Regions from separate parts of the Homo sapiens genome. Here region 1 is linked to region 2. The links are contacts of gene promoters, found by promoter capture Hi-C in human tissues and cell types (Jung and others, 2019). All regions are on one chromosome and are shown on one strand. Each heading gives the region's core, a stretch centred on a gene start or on the middle of the fragment in contact. The rest is flanking DNA. Distances are from core to core; before and after follow the strand shown. Region 1 holds the start of SEC14L5 (SEC14 like lipid binding 5). Region 2 holds the start of VASN (vasorin).

Region 1 (3,837 bases), core at 1,110-3,609, 590 kb before region 2:
GCTCATGGAGGTGAAGTGACTTGCCCCACAGTCACTCAGCTCGTCAATTGGGGAGCTAGAATATGACCCTAAGCCAGTTCCTGCCTCTTTGCTGTCCTAGAACCATCTGCCTGTAACAGCACAAGGTATGTGGATGATTTTGGTGATGCTTTTAAATCCTCTGTGTGACAATAAACATATACGCATGTAGATTCATAGAATAAGACAGGACTGGACACACAGGCACACACAGCCACCAAGAGATATGAAAGTCCCTGGATAGAAGGCTGGGGTTAAGCAGTCAGTGCTGGGGTGGGACAGATGGGGGTGGATGCTAATGTTTCTTACACTTTCAATACATTAATTTACAAGACTTCGGTGTAATAACAGCGACAGCATATTTTGTGAGCTCCTACTGTGTGCCCGGCACACAGCAAGGAGCACCAAGAACTATCTCATTTACTCCTCCCCGCAACCTTGTAGCATTGTCCCCATGTTACTGAGCAGGGAAGTGAAGTGCTCAGAGGCAGAGGGATGCAGCCAAGAAGGAATTCCACATCCACCTATGTCCAGCTTCTGCCCCCAGGGTGAAAAGACCAGTGATCCTGGGGGCCAAGGATCTGGCAGCCAATTCTAGGCCTCCAACTGACTTGCTGCACAACACAGAGTACATCACAAAGCAAACCTACCCACTCATTCTCTCTCTCGTCCCAGTGTCAGCTTCCTTAAAGGGGAGGGAAGGGGGTCTGTGAGCAGAAGGAGGGCTCTGTGGTCAAATGTGAGGTTCTAGAGTCTCCTTTGTGGGGATCTCAGCCCCGACTCCACCTCTGCGTAGATACAGAACTTAGTGTCATCCCTTCACCTGTCAAAGCCTCAGTTTCATGGAGGTTACATGGGAAAATAACAGCTATCGGGAATTGGAAGAAACATCATCTGTTAAGACAGTGCTGTAAACATTCAATAAACAGCTGTTGTCATTATCACCACCATTCCATTTATCACTGTGATATGCCATTATATGAAATGACAGCAGTGGCTTGGCCCCTGATACCTTTGTTTTCTATCAGGAGAGTCTAAAGTAAGGGAGCAGGTCAGCTTCAACAAGGAGAAGGAAGAAAGACTTTGTGTTTTGGTCACTGGGCCGAGGATAGGATGGTTGGACAGAGAGGTCACTGGATAGAAGTTAAACCCACCAGGTCAGCTGAGTAACTCACTAATTCCTTCTGATCTGGGAGTCTAAGGAGCTCCGTCTTCCTACCGCCATAGCTGATCTCAAGCCCCTCCAACTGTCACATGGGGGCCCAAGAATCAGGAGTCACTCACCGCCATGACCAGCTCAAACGGGTACTTGTAGACTCGGACAGGAGACTGGTATCTTTGCACCATGTTCACGCTGGAGCACCAATGGAGGTCACCAGGCAGGGGTGTGCACAGAGCCTGGGGCGAGGAGTGACTGGTGAGGTTGCAGCTCCCACCTCGGGAAGCAGGGACACCACCCACCAAGTGTAAGGGGCAGCCCCTGGCCCCACCCACACAGCTCCCCAGCCTTCAAATTGAGAAGGCTGATATTCCCCCCAAATTACTCCAGGCCAAGCCCCAACAGCTTCCCTGTCATTAGCCATGGCCCCAGACCACGCTCAGCCTTCCAAGAGCAGTCAGCACCCCCAAACTTTCCTCTACCCCCACCCCTTCACACTGAGGGCCCCCAGAAGCCTTACGGCCACCCACACAGACACACACACATTTGCAATTCTTACACTCCCACGGTTCTATTCACGCATGCACCCCGCAGCTTGCCACAGACTTGCTGGCCTACAGCCCACCCCCGAGTCTCCTTGCACCTGCCCTCCCATTTTCCTCCCAGACACCCTGACATACACACACAGCCTTCACCACATTTCACAGGCACTGTCTCTATCACACACATGTACACACGCAGGTTTCCCTCCCACACGGGACTGCTTTTGCACACGCCTCCAACTTTGCACACACACCCTGAAACACGCACCTGCCCAGCTCCACGCACGCAATTCCCCTGGTGTGCACAGACGTGCACACACGCACACACACCCGTGCGCACATGCACACACACGTACACACACGTAGAGGCAATCGCACACGCATGCACACACAGGTCCCCGCAGCTTTGCTCACCCTCGCCCTCGGGAGCCTTTGGGAATGCAGCCTAGGGGAAGTGCCCTGGAAGCCCGCCTGGCTCGGGAGCTGAGCGCTTACCCGCGCCCGCCTGGCCTGGAGCGCAGTACCTGAGGCGGGGCCCGATCGCGGATCTCTAGCCTGGTGTGTCCCGCCTTGAACACCCTGCGGCCAGGACAGCTGTGGAAGGCCGGAGGGGCGGGAGCGAAACCTGCCGGGCCGAGAGAGCTCCAGGACCCGGGACAGCGGAGATCCTGGCCTGGCCCCGCCCCTGACCTGGTCCCGCCCACGTCCCCGGCCATGGCCCCGCCCAGGTTGGCCCTGCCCCCTAACTGGTCCCGCCCCACTCTGGCCCCGCCCCAGGCGAACTCCCCCTGGTTCTAGCCCCGCCCCTTATTTTTAGATGTCGCTTGTTTGACCACGCCCTCAGCCCAGTCCTTTCTCTAGATTGGTCACACCTCAGGAAGTCCCCTCCCCCTTCACTGGCCCCGCCCTCCAAGGCCCTCAGCCTCGGGGAATGGTAGGCCACAGGACGACCCCGCCCTAATCTAGCTCTGCCTCCAAGCAGACCCTGAGTCCGGGCCGACCCGCCCCGGACCCTGCGTCTGGCCGACAGTACTGTTTACATTTGTAGATAAGCAGAATTTACGCTTTTCTTGCTCAGATTAACCTCGCCCTCGTCCCGCTGCACTTGGGTCTGACTGGCTCCTCCACCTGTCCCCGCCCCACGGCCCGCGCATGCACCTTCGCCCACTCTGCACACCTTCACAGAGCGCCTGCTGGGGGTCAGCCCTGTCCAGGCGCTGGAGAGCCGCCGGTGAGCCACACGCACGAATCCCTGCCCTCGTGGAGTTTATACTACGGTGGGGAGACAGACACTCAATAAATAAGGCAAATATATGATGTGTGAGGTAGTGAAAAACTCTAACGAGAGAAAAATAAGCAGGAAAGGGGCTCAAGGAGCCAGCGGAGAGAAAGGACAATTTAAAACAGGTAAGAGGCCGGGCGCCATGTCTCACGCCTGTAATCCAAACACTTTAGGAGGCGGAAGCGGGAGGACCGCTTGAACCCAGGAGTTGGAGACCACCCTGGGTAACATAGCAAGAACCTATCTCTACAAAAAAATTTTTTTTTAGTTTAGGCAGGGCGCGGTGGCTCACGCCTGTAATCCCAGCACACTGAGAGGCCAAGGCAGGCAGATCAGCTGAGGTCAGGAGTTCGAGAACAGCATGGCCAATATGAGGAAACCCCGTCTCTACTAAAATACAAAATTAGCCGGGCATGGTGGCGTATACCTGTAATCTCAGCTACTCGGGAGGCTGAGGCAGGAGAATCGCTTGAATCAAGGAGGCGGAGGTTGCAGTGAGCCGAGACTGCGCCACTGCACTCCAGCCTGGGCAAGAAGAACAAAGCTCCGTCGCAAAAAAAAAAAAAAAAAATTAGCCAGGCGTGTTGGCACGTGCCTGTGGTCCCAGCTACTCAAGAGGCTGAGGCAGGAGGATCCCTTGAGCCCAGAAGTTCAAAGCTGCAGTGAGCTGTTACCTGGCCACTGCACTCCAGCCTGGGCAACAAAGCAAGACTCGGTCTCAAAATAAATAAGTAAATAAATAAATAAAACAGGGAGTAAGGGGGCCTCCCTTGGGAGAGTGACATTTGTCCATCACTCTCATTTTAACTCACACTTAACCCCTTTCAGCCCTCCCA
Region 2 (3,466 bases), core at 484-2,983:
GGGCTGCGTGCCAGAGGGGCCTTCCTCGGGTAAGCACAGGTCTGGGCAGTGTCTGAGAGGCTCCTTATGCTGAATCCCATTCTCCCATTCCCAGAATATGGAGAGAGAGGTGCCATCTGGACAAATGCCCTGGGACCCCAGCCCCCAGCCCCATCCCCATCTGACCCTCCGGACCCACAGGTAGCAGGACAGCTGTTCCAACGTGCAGGAGACAGGGGCGGGGTGGGGACAGGCAGTGCCCGGCCCCCAGGCTGGCATGTGTGTGCGCATCCTCCCTCCCCAGGCCCAGGGGAGGCTAGATAATGGTCTGGAGGGGATCCAGCTGGGCTGCTCATCACCAGAGCCTCTTCCTGCCTCTGACACTCTGTTTACAGAAGCTCCAGGCCAACTCCCCTGGGAGAAGAGAGTAAACTCAGGGGACTGCTCCCCATCCCCCACCCGCCTGCCCCAGCTCTGTTGGGTTTTTGTCAATAGCTGGGCCCATCCTGGACTTTGCTGCCCCCTGGACTGGCCCTAATGGACCCTGCTTGGAAGGTCCCAGCCCGGCCACCCCTCTATGCCCTCAACACCCAAAGTACAGTCTAGTGTGAAGGGACCTTGGAGATTTTATCCAATCCCCAGCCCTGGAGGCTCTCAGCCTGGGGAAGGGGGCTCTAGGTCCCGCTGCCTCTCTCCAGAGCCTCACCTGTCCTTGGTGCAAAAGGCAGGCATGGGGACACCTAGACCCCCAGGACCTCTTCCTTCCACCCTGCACACTCCACCCCTGGGCCACAGCAGGGGAGGCGGTCAGTGACCCTGGTGTGGCAATCGTTAACGAATGGGGGAGAGGCAGAATGGTTGGCACCAATCGGCTGGCCTGCCAGTGACCACAGGGGACCTCAGCAGTCCTCAGGCCCCAGCACTGCCAGCCCAGGGACACAAAGGACTAGGCTGGCTCCAGGCCACTGGGTTTGCAGCCCAAGCAAAGCCCCTTCCCTGGCAGAGGCAGAGACCCGGCACCCTGCCTGATACCCGAAGCTCTAAGGGCCCTGGCCAGTACAGGTCCATCCCCCACCTGGAGGGATGGGCATCGGACGCCCACCAGCCACTCCCCGCCCCTCCCTAGGGCTGCATATCTGTAGCCCCCAGCTGTGCTTTGAGTGACAAGGGTCCAGAGGACCCCGGGCAGCCCTTCTGCACAGCAGCACCTACTGCCGGACCCCAGGAGGGAAAAGTGACCCAAGCCTGTGGCTTGGCTATCCCCCTCAAAGGGGTTTGATTCATAAAACTGGTCATGCCGGAGGCCCAGCCGTGGGAGGAGGAAGCATGGGACGGGGTGTTTATTTTGTCTGCTTGCAGCCTCGCGGGCTCACCGCACACTCAGGCGCGCACCCTGGCCGGCCGCGGGGCTGTCGGCGCCCCAGGACGGCGGGGGAGGGAGCGTACAGGGCCTGCCCGCCGGGCGGCCCAGGTGACCGTGTGGGGCTGGGGCCGCGGTCCCGCCCGAGAGTGCGTGTGTGCGCGCGGCGGCGGTCCCCGCGCGTGTGCACAGCCTGGCCGTGGCGCCCCCTTCCCCGCCCGCAGCCCCCCAGCCCCACAGAAACTCACCGGGAGGCGGCGGCGGCGCAGGGAGCCGGGCGGGGCAGGCCGCGGCCTCAGTCTTTCCTGGCGGGTCGGGCCCGAGGGGGTCCTGGGTCCCGAAGCAACTGCGTTCGAGTCCGCGTCCACCCGCCCCGGGCTCGGGCTCCGGAGTCGGCTCGCTGGAGGCAGGTCGCGCCTTAAGAGTCCCGGGGGGCGGGCCCGCCGCGGCAGGGGCGGGGCCTCTCCCCATTGGCCGGGGCGGAGCCGCGTGGAGACACGCCCCTTCCCCACCGAGGGGCTCGTGGGCCGGGTTGCCCTGGCCCTCACCCTGCGGCCACCTGACCTGCGCGGGGAGACCTTGCCCGTCGTGGGTTTGCCGGATGACACTGGGCAGGTTTCTGCTTTTTGTGTAAAAAGCGAGAGACTATTTAGGAATCCTAAGCGTCACAGCCCAGATGCCTATGAGGCACCAGGCAGGTGACAAATGCCAGAAGTCCACCCCAGGGCCTCTGCGGCCCTGGAGAGGCAGGATGGCGGGAGTGGGGCTGGTAAGGGCTGAGTCCTCATGACCAGCCCGGGCCAGCTAGAGCTTTGGATTTTTGAAGAGAAACTGGAAATCCAGATTTTTAGGTGAAATCTCTCAATGTGTTATTGTTGGTAGCTAATCCCAATTTCAAAAAACTCCTGGCAGCCCACACAAAGCCCTTTCAAGAGCCTCCTAAGTATAAACTCCAATGCCAAATCTGAGCTCAGGGTCCTCTTAGCCACGACAGCCTTAAGAGTTGTGAGCAGCCCTGGACTCTCTTCCCCACCATATTATGAGATGAAGGGGCTGTGTCAGGGAGGGCAGTGGTGGTCTGCCCACGGCCCCACAGTTACTGGCAGCTTCAAGCCTGAGCTGTGGAGGCATAGGGGTGGTCACCGTCGGTGGGTGGGGCCTGGGCTGCAGTTGACAGTGGCCCTTGATTGGGCAGGAGGGGCGGGTGCCAGGGGCCGGACTAGTCCAGAAAAATCCCCTGCCTTGGAGGATTCCAGGAAAACACTCTGCCCTCCTCCCCCTCCGCGTTTGTGGTCAGTCATGCCTCAGAGCCTTTGGGGGCCCAGCTCAGCTCCTGACTTCCGGAGAGCCTTGGGACACCCACACCCCCTCCAGCCCGGCCTGTAGCCAAGGCCCTTGGCTGGGCTAGCTCTAGTCTTTGGGGGGCCTGAAGGCTTATCCCTGGGAGGCTGGGCCACACCAGCTGGAGGGTTTCCTAGTCTCTGGAGGACTCAGTTATCTCCAGAAGGCAGGATGGCCTCTGTGTCTAGCCGTCAAGGGCTAAGCAGGGCCTGGCTGGGACAGTCACCTTCTGGACCTCCCGTCCACAGGGCCCTCTCCCCACAGGGCCCCTTTCCAGGGCTGGCAGGGCTCCACAACCCATACGTTTCTCGGTCTACATGGATTAGGGCATGGCTTGCGGACCTCTGTTCCTGGGTTGGGGCTGGCCTTTGGGTGCATTTAGTGCAGGCTTTATGGGAGTTTTTACAACTTTGAAGGCACTGCTAACATTGAAAAATCAGGTGGTTTCATATTAAAATGGGGCTTCCCAGCTTGCATTGAACAGGAACTCTCAGCTGGGGCTGAGTGGCGGTTGCTCCCTCTGCCAAAATGTGGGCTCATGGGTCACCCCAGTCCCCACCACTCCCTGCTGCCTCCTGCCAAGCTGTCCACTCACTTGAGTTTCCTGCCCGGCCCCAGAACCATCTGAGTTTCCAATCAGTGCTGTGCAGCCTCTTGTCGGACTGTTTCCCTGCCTCTTCCCTTGGCCCTGTGTCCTCTGAAGCCCTCAGAAGCATCCACAGATGCCCAGGGTCAGGGGTAAAGAGGGCTCCAAGAGCCTCCAGCCTGGCTTTCCTCAAGGAACAG

What was found. Contacts are between HindIII fragments. The study calls those that stand out against the background at their distance.
Region 1: the fragment with the promoter of SEC14L5 here is called in contact with the fragment with the promoter of VASN in region 2 in 1 of the 25 tissues and cell types used here (spleen).

Annotation. Positions count from the first base shown.
Region 1 is chr16:4,956,852-4,960,688 of GRCh38, reverse strand. It overlaps SEC14L5 (SEC14 like lipid binding 5), which reads right to left and starts at 2,359. Exons shown (of 16, transcript NM_014692.2): 1 at 2,244-2,359; 2 at 1,303-1,416. The coding sequence starts at 1,365. RefSeq lists an enhancer at 1,832-2,367 and silencers at 2,171-2,466, 2,265-2,474. The HindIII fragment of the contact is 18,853 bases long and covers 1-3,837 here.
Region 2 is chr16:4,370,115-4,373,580 of GRCh38, reverse strand. VASN (vasorin) reads right to left here and starts at 1,733. Exons shown (of 2, transcript NM_138440.3): 1 at 1,588-1,733. The region is part of intron 9 of CORO7-PAM16 (CORO7-PAM16 readthrough); the gene reads left to right. The region is part of intron 9 of CORO7 (coronin 7); the gene reads left to right. RefSeq lists an enhancer at 1,526-2,351. The HindIII fragment of the contact is 27,496 bases long and covers 1,115-3,466 here.